Regions from separate parts of the Homo sapiens genome. Here region 1 is linked to region 2. Evidence: promoter capture Hi-C in human tissues and cell types (Jung and others, 2019). All regions are on one chromosome and are shown on one strand. Each heading gives the region's core, a stretch centred on a gene start or on the middle of the fragment in contact. The rest is flanking DNA. Distances are from core to core; before and after follow the strand shown.

Region 1 (3,044 bases), core at 459-2,958, 54 kb before region 2:
ATTTGTCCAAAATGTAGAAACCCTGAGGCCTGGTGTGAGAAACACAGCCTTAGAGTTCTGGAAGGTCACTGAGAAACCATCACTTCTCCTCATGCCAAGGAATGAAGGACTAATGCATAGAACATAAAGGTACATAAAAACATACATGTCTTTGTTGTGTTACCAACACAATTATTGCATTTGAACTCTTATGCATTCAAACCTTAGACTAAATTACAAAGTGACTCTAAGCATTTCGTAATTTTCTACAAATGTTGATAGTGCAGGCCTGTCTACTATTTTTAACTCAGAAGGGAGTTCCATGGAGTTTAGCCCAGTATTTTGGAGCTAGAAGAGAGGATCGGTCATTGAGTCCAATACTCTACAGGTCAGAAAATGAAGGAGAGAGGGGTCACCCGTGCTCCTTTGGTCAAAGACTTCAGTTGAAGGGTCAAAGAGAATCCAGGCCATCTCCTGACTCGGGATTCTTTCAAGTTAGCAAATATGTGATGTTTTCATTACTCAGGAAAAGTGTATAGAACTACTTTCAAAAATATTTTAGGGACAATACACTAGAAGTGTTATCAAGAGATAAATTGCTTTGTAGTTAAAAAGTGAAAACTACAGCCTAAATGAAAGGAAGGGAGAATAAAAGGAAAATTGTATTTTTTTCAGCTGTCATTATAAAAGTGATGTTGCCCCCATTTACCAATGAAAAGACACTGAGGGCCACAGTGTCCCTCTGAGACCCTCTTTCCAGGGTCACATAGCTGAAATATGTGGCCAAAACAGTATCTTTCCCAAGGCTTATAACTGTAGGCCCTTGTACTACACTGTGCTATATCTGGTAGGAAAGAATATAGATACACAAACTAAAAAACATCACTTATTTTAAAACTCTTGTTATTTCATGAAATGGCAGACCATAATGATTTGGTGTGGACATTAAACAAAAAGAGTTTATACGCCTCATTAAGATAATTTTCTGGAGCTTTGAATCCATCGTTTATACATAATGTGTTCAGTATATTTTGTTTAGCCACAAAATCACAATTGTTAAATCTTTAATTACTGAAATATGAAGTTATGCAATTTATTTTTGAAAGCTGTGTATGCTACTCACCAGATTTTTGTTCTTTAAAAAATATTTTGTTTTGCAATTTTCCAAATACAGTAGACCCACAGTGCATATAGCAATCGTAAGACTTTATCAACCTCTGGTTTCTGAACTCACATCCAACATTCATTACTTTCCTCTATTGAAATTATTCCCCACTAGTGGAGTTTTTTTTTCTTTCTAGTGCAATGACATGTTACAGCATACCATCTGATTGTTTGTGAAATCAATTATTTAAATTAATTCAGGAAAAGTGCATGGAACTACTTTCAAACATCTTTTAGGGACAATTCACTAGAATGGCCCCTAAAACCAGTTATAAGATAAAACCAGGAATTGGATAACAATGATGGACAATATTGCCATTGTCATCCAAATCTTGGTTTTATCTTATAACTTAATTCAGAATGTTATTTGATGCCTACTTAATGGCTAGGGTTGCTATGTTTCTTAAATACTCATATTGTATTTCTAATGGTAATACCATAAATCTAAGCCTGGATCTTTCTTTTTACAACTGATATAAAGTGCATTATGATATTTTAACTGCTATTTACCTTCCTCAGAGAACTGCTGACTTTTCTATGCTGCATAAATATTTCTTATTTTAAGGTAATTTGTAATCTAATATTTTGAAGATTCCAAATACATATTTGAAAATAATATTTTCCTGGATTCTAAGTTGCAATAGGTTGAATTAACTCAAAGAAAACAACTTTCCATATGCAATAAGCTATTTGATTATCTGATTATCAACACCAAGGGAAAAATAGCGTTAATTGAAAAAATTATTTTTACTAATGGTTTTTTTTTTGAGATGGAGTCTCACTCTGTCGCCCAGGTTGGAGTGCAGTGGCGTGGTTTCAGCTCACTACAACCTCCGCTTCCCGGGTTCACGCCATTCTCCTGACTCAGCCTTCCGAGTAGCTGGGACTATAGGCACCCGCCACCACGCCTGGCTAATTTTTTGTATTTTTAGTAGAGACGGGGTTTCACCATGTTAGCCAGGATGGTCTCGATCTCCTGACCTCGTGATCCGCCCGCCTTGGCCTCCCAAAGTGCTGGGATTACAGGCGTGAGCCATCACGCCCGGCCACTAATGGCTGTTTTTTAAACGCTTTTTTGTATGTTGACTTCAATATGGGTTTGTTTGAAATTGTGCTGTTTCACATGTCAGATACAATAAAGCAGCTTCAGCAAAAAGATTCAACCGAAGAGAAGCTACAAGTCCCTCAACTTGCCCACATTCGCATTCCCACATTTCCAATTTGTTCCTCCTGCTTCAGTCAGTACCTATCCTTGGCACGGCTTCTTCTTCTTCTTTTTTTTTTTTTTGAGACGAAGTCTCACTCTGTCCCCCAGGCTGGAGTCCAGTGACGTGATCTCAGTTCACTGCAACTTCCGCCTCCCGGGTTCAAGCGATTCTCCTGCCTCAGCCTCCCAAGCAGCTGGGAATACAGGCGCCCGCCATTACGCCTGGCTAATTTTTTGTATTTTTAGTAGAGACGGGGTTTCACTATGTTGGCCAGGCTGGTCTCGAACTCCTGACCTCGTGATTCGCCCGCTTCGGCCTCCTAAAGTGCTGAGATTACAGGCATGAGCCACCGTGCCGGGCCCTCTCTCTTTTATTTAAAAGGATAGGCACAGCCTTTGGAACTGAATGTCTTTCTTCAGGCCTCACAATAGAAAATGAGGAAAGTCCATTCTGACAACTGGCTGCCTTAAGAAACAGAATTTGGGATTCTTTCCCTTCCAGCTCCTGTTGAGTCAAAGGCAAAGGCAATAACCCAATAAATGTGGTGAGACAGTAAATGGAAACTGACATAAACATAGCAATAAAAGCCTACTTCCTTCTTGACAATCAACATATAATGGAATGGGTATGATTTTACACCATAAAAGATCAGAGAATAACAGAATTTGGGCTGAAGAAAGTTTAGAAAGAAGA
Region 2 (2,993 bases), core at 1-2,500:
TGTTGTTTTTGTTTTTTTGTTTTGTTTTTGTTTTTGAGACAAATTGAGGCTCTGTCACCTAGGATGGAGTGCAATGGAGCAATCTTGGTTCACTGCAACCTTCGCTTCTCAGGCTCAAGCCTTCCTCCCACTTCAGCCTCCCAAGTAGCTGGGACCACAGGTGCATGCATGCCACCACATCTGGCAAATTTTTGTATTTTTCATAGAGACAGGGTTTCCTCATGTTGGCCTGGCTGGTCTCAAACTCCTGAGCTCAGTGATTTCCCACCTCAGCCTCCTAAAATGTTAGGATTACAGATGTGAGCCACTGCATCCAGCCAAAATTTTAAAATTTAAAAAAATAATTTAAAATCTCCTGTCTCCATTAGGATGTCTCTCACACTACACCCTCCTTTTTTTTTTTTTAAATTTTTGAGATGGTGTCAAAAAATGACAGCCTCTGTCATTCAGGCTGGAGTGCAGTGGCGCCACCATAGGTCACTGCAGCCTCAAATTCCTGGGCTCCAGCGATCCTCCCACCTCACCTCCCTGGTGCCTTTTATTTTATTTTATTTTATTTTATTTTTGACCCTAAGTCTTGCTCTTGTCGCCCAGTCTGGAGTGCAATGGTGCGATCTTGGCTCACTGCAACTCCGCCTCCCAGATTCAAGCGATTCTCCTGCCTCAGCCTCCCAAGTAGCTGAGTAGTTGGGATTACAGGTGCCTGCGACCACGCCTGGCTAATTTTTGTATTTTTAGTAGAGACTGGGTTTCACCATGTTGGCCAGGCTGGTCTCGAATTCCTGGCCTCAAGTGATCCTCCCGCCTCAGTCTCCCAAAGTGCTGGGATTATAGGCGTGAGCCACCGCGCCCAGCCCCTGGTGCCTTCTTTAACACTGGGTGGGAAGAGAGTGTCCTGGCGAGGCCTCTGCACACCGACTGCATTTCCCAGATCCAAACTAATAACCTCCCTTGCCCCAGGCGCCTTCCAGGGCTGACATGCCTCCTCTCGCAAGTGGGGGAAACAGATGTCCCCGGGGGCTGGGGATAGGGGCGGGGGTGTGGGGAGGTGAGGGGCGAGGGGAAGGGGGGGAGGGGGGCGAAGGGGGCGGGGAGGAGGGGGAGCCGGCCGGGAGACGGCCCGGCCCAGCCGCCCGGGCTGTTGCCTCCGCTGCGGGCGTTCCTCCAGGCCTGCGGAGGGCGCTGCGGGCGCGGGGCTGGGCCGCTCTGGCTGGCGGGCGAGCAGAGAGGCGCCTCGGTGGCGGTGCGCTGTCCAGCATTTCAGCAAGCGGCGGCAGCACCCGCGGGGAGGCAGAGGGTGCGGGGCCGTGGGGGCCGCGGAGCTGCCCTGCCCAACTCAGCCCAGACTAGGCGGCAGCCCGGACCGGCGGGACCCGAGGGCCTGGCCCCAGCGCCCGGTAGATCGCGGCGGTCAGCGGTGAGGTGAGAGCGCCTGTGGGGCGGGGGCATATCCCCGAGGGGCTGGGGCTGGGTGGAAGCTCGGGCCTCCCCAGCACCCCCGTGGTCTGCAGGCTCCCCCGAGCAGAGGGGCAGTGTGGGAGGTCGGCGAGGGCGTCTGTCCGGGGGTGCCAGGCGCCCGGGGAGCAGAGATGAGGAACATTCATTTCACTGAGAGGGATGGAGACAGTGGAGACCTTTGGGGTCATGGGCAGGACTCCCCTGGGCATAAATGACCATGGCCTAGTCCATGAGGGTGCCAGGGAGGCCCCCCAACCGCAGTCCCACTGAGGAGAAGGACCTGCTCCCCAGGGAAGGGAGGACCGATGCAGTAACCCTGTGGAGATGCTGGTCACTGGCCCTGGTGAAGGGAGCAGGCCCCCACCTGGATGCTGGGCCTCTGTCCAGCAGGAGGTGCCGGCCCAGGGGACAGCCTGGCCCCTTTCCCGGCTACCCAAATGCCCCTAGGGAGGCAGGAGCTGGCAAGGAGAACTGGGTCTCACAGGATGGCATTTACTCTTGCACTGGGAAGAGGATGGAGGACACAGAAGAGAAAATAGCTACTAGGAATTTGGGAGGGGGTTCTCTGTGCACACCCCCCACCCCAACCACGGACGCCCAGAGAGAGTTTCTAGCCCAGAGTTAGACCTGCGCCAGAGTGAATTCCTGGTAAAGAAGAGAGCTGAGAAAAGACGCAGCCTCTGCCTTGCCTCCGCCTCCCCCTCCCTCCCAGGGCTCCTGCCTGGACAGTGTTGAAGCCTCCTGCAGTTCCTACTCCTGACAGCAGATCCATTGTGGGGAGAGATTTAGTGGGAGGAAGGGAAGGTTGTACCAAGGTCTGACGTGGTACTTCAATGCCTGTGCCCTATCCCAGCCATAACTTCTCGCTGTCCTAAGACCTCACTCACCCTAGCATCGGGGGCTTGAGCTGGTCTTTTGTCCCATGGCAAGAGAAAAGGCAGGTGCTGGGCTTTGACGGAGAGACGTGCACAAGTTCCTCTGTCCAGGGAGCATCTTAAGGTCATGGCCCCAGTTTGTGCCAGCTTCTTCCTCAGTCAAAAATAGGACCCAGCTGGCTAGGAAATTGTTCCCACACAGCAGTAGCTTTCTGGTTCCTTAACTTTATGCCCCATCCCACTCTCCTGTGGGGTGGAGGAGGTATTCTTGAAGACTGACTAAAGAGTCAACTGGGTTTTAAGAGGTAGGGGTATGTGGGTTGGGAGTCATGGACTCTGATGTCAGAAAGACATGGGATCAAATCTAGGTTATGTGACCTCAGGTAAGCCATTGACCTTTCTGAGTCTGTTTTCAATCTGTAAAACAGGTGTAGTGTTAGCAATGTCTACTTTGCTGTTGAAAGAAATAATCTGGATAAGGAGATGGGAGACTACTTTTACGGTATAAAATGCTGGGTGAGTGTTAGTAAATAGGAGACAAGTAAGAATTTCTTAAAGAAGAGCTGGATAAATGTGGAATAGTGTTCAGTGATATTTGAAGCACATTTTTCTGTTCCCAGAGGAGATGAACAGTGGTTGAGAGCCTCATGCCCAGCTCCA

What was found. Contacts are between HindIII fragments. The study calls those that stand out against the background at their distance.
Region 1: a fragment that was not itself captured here is called in contact with the fragment with the promoter of SRRM3 in region 2 in 4 of the 25 tissues and cell types used here (IMR-90 fibroblasts, lymphoblastoid cells, mesenchymal stem cells and 1 more).

What each region holds. Positions count from the first base shown.
Region 1 is chr7:76,146,265-76,149,308 of GRCh38, forward strand. No RefSeq gene overlaps it. Among named protein-coding and RNA genes, the nearest start is that of SRRM3, 54 kb to the right of the region's middle. The HindIII fragment of the contact is 4,745 bases long and covers 1-3,044 here.
Region 2 is chr7:76,200,646-76,203,638 of GRCh38, forward strand. It overlaps SRRM3 (serine/arginine repetitive matrix 3), which reads left to right and starts at 1,251. Exons shown (of 15, transcript NM_001110199.3): 1 at 1,251-1,422. RefSeq lists a silencer at 1,098-1,337. The HindIII fragment of the contact is 14,936 bases long and covers 1-2,993 here.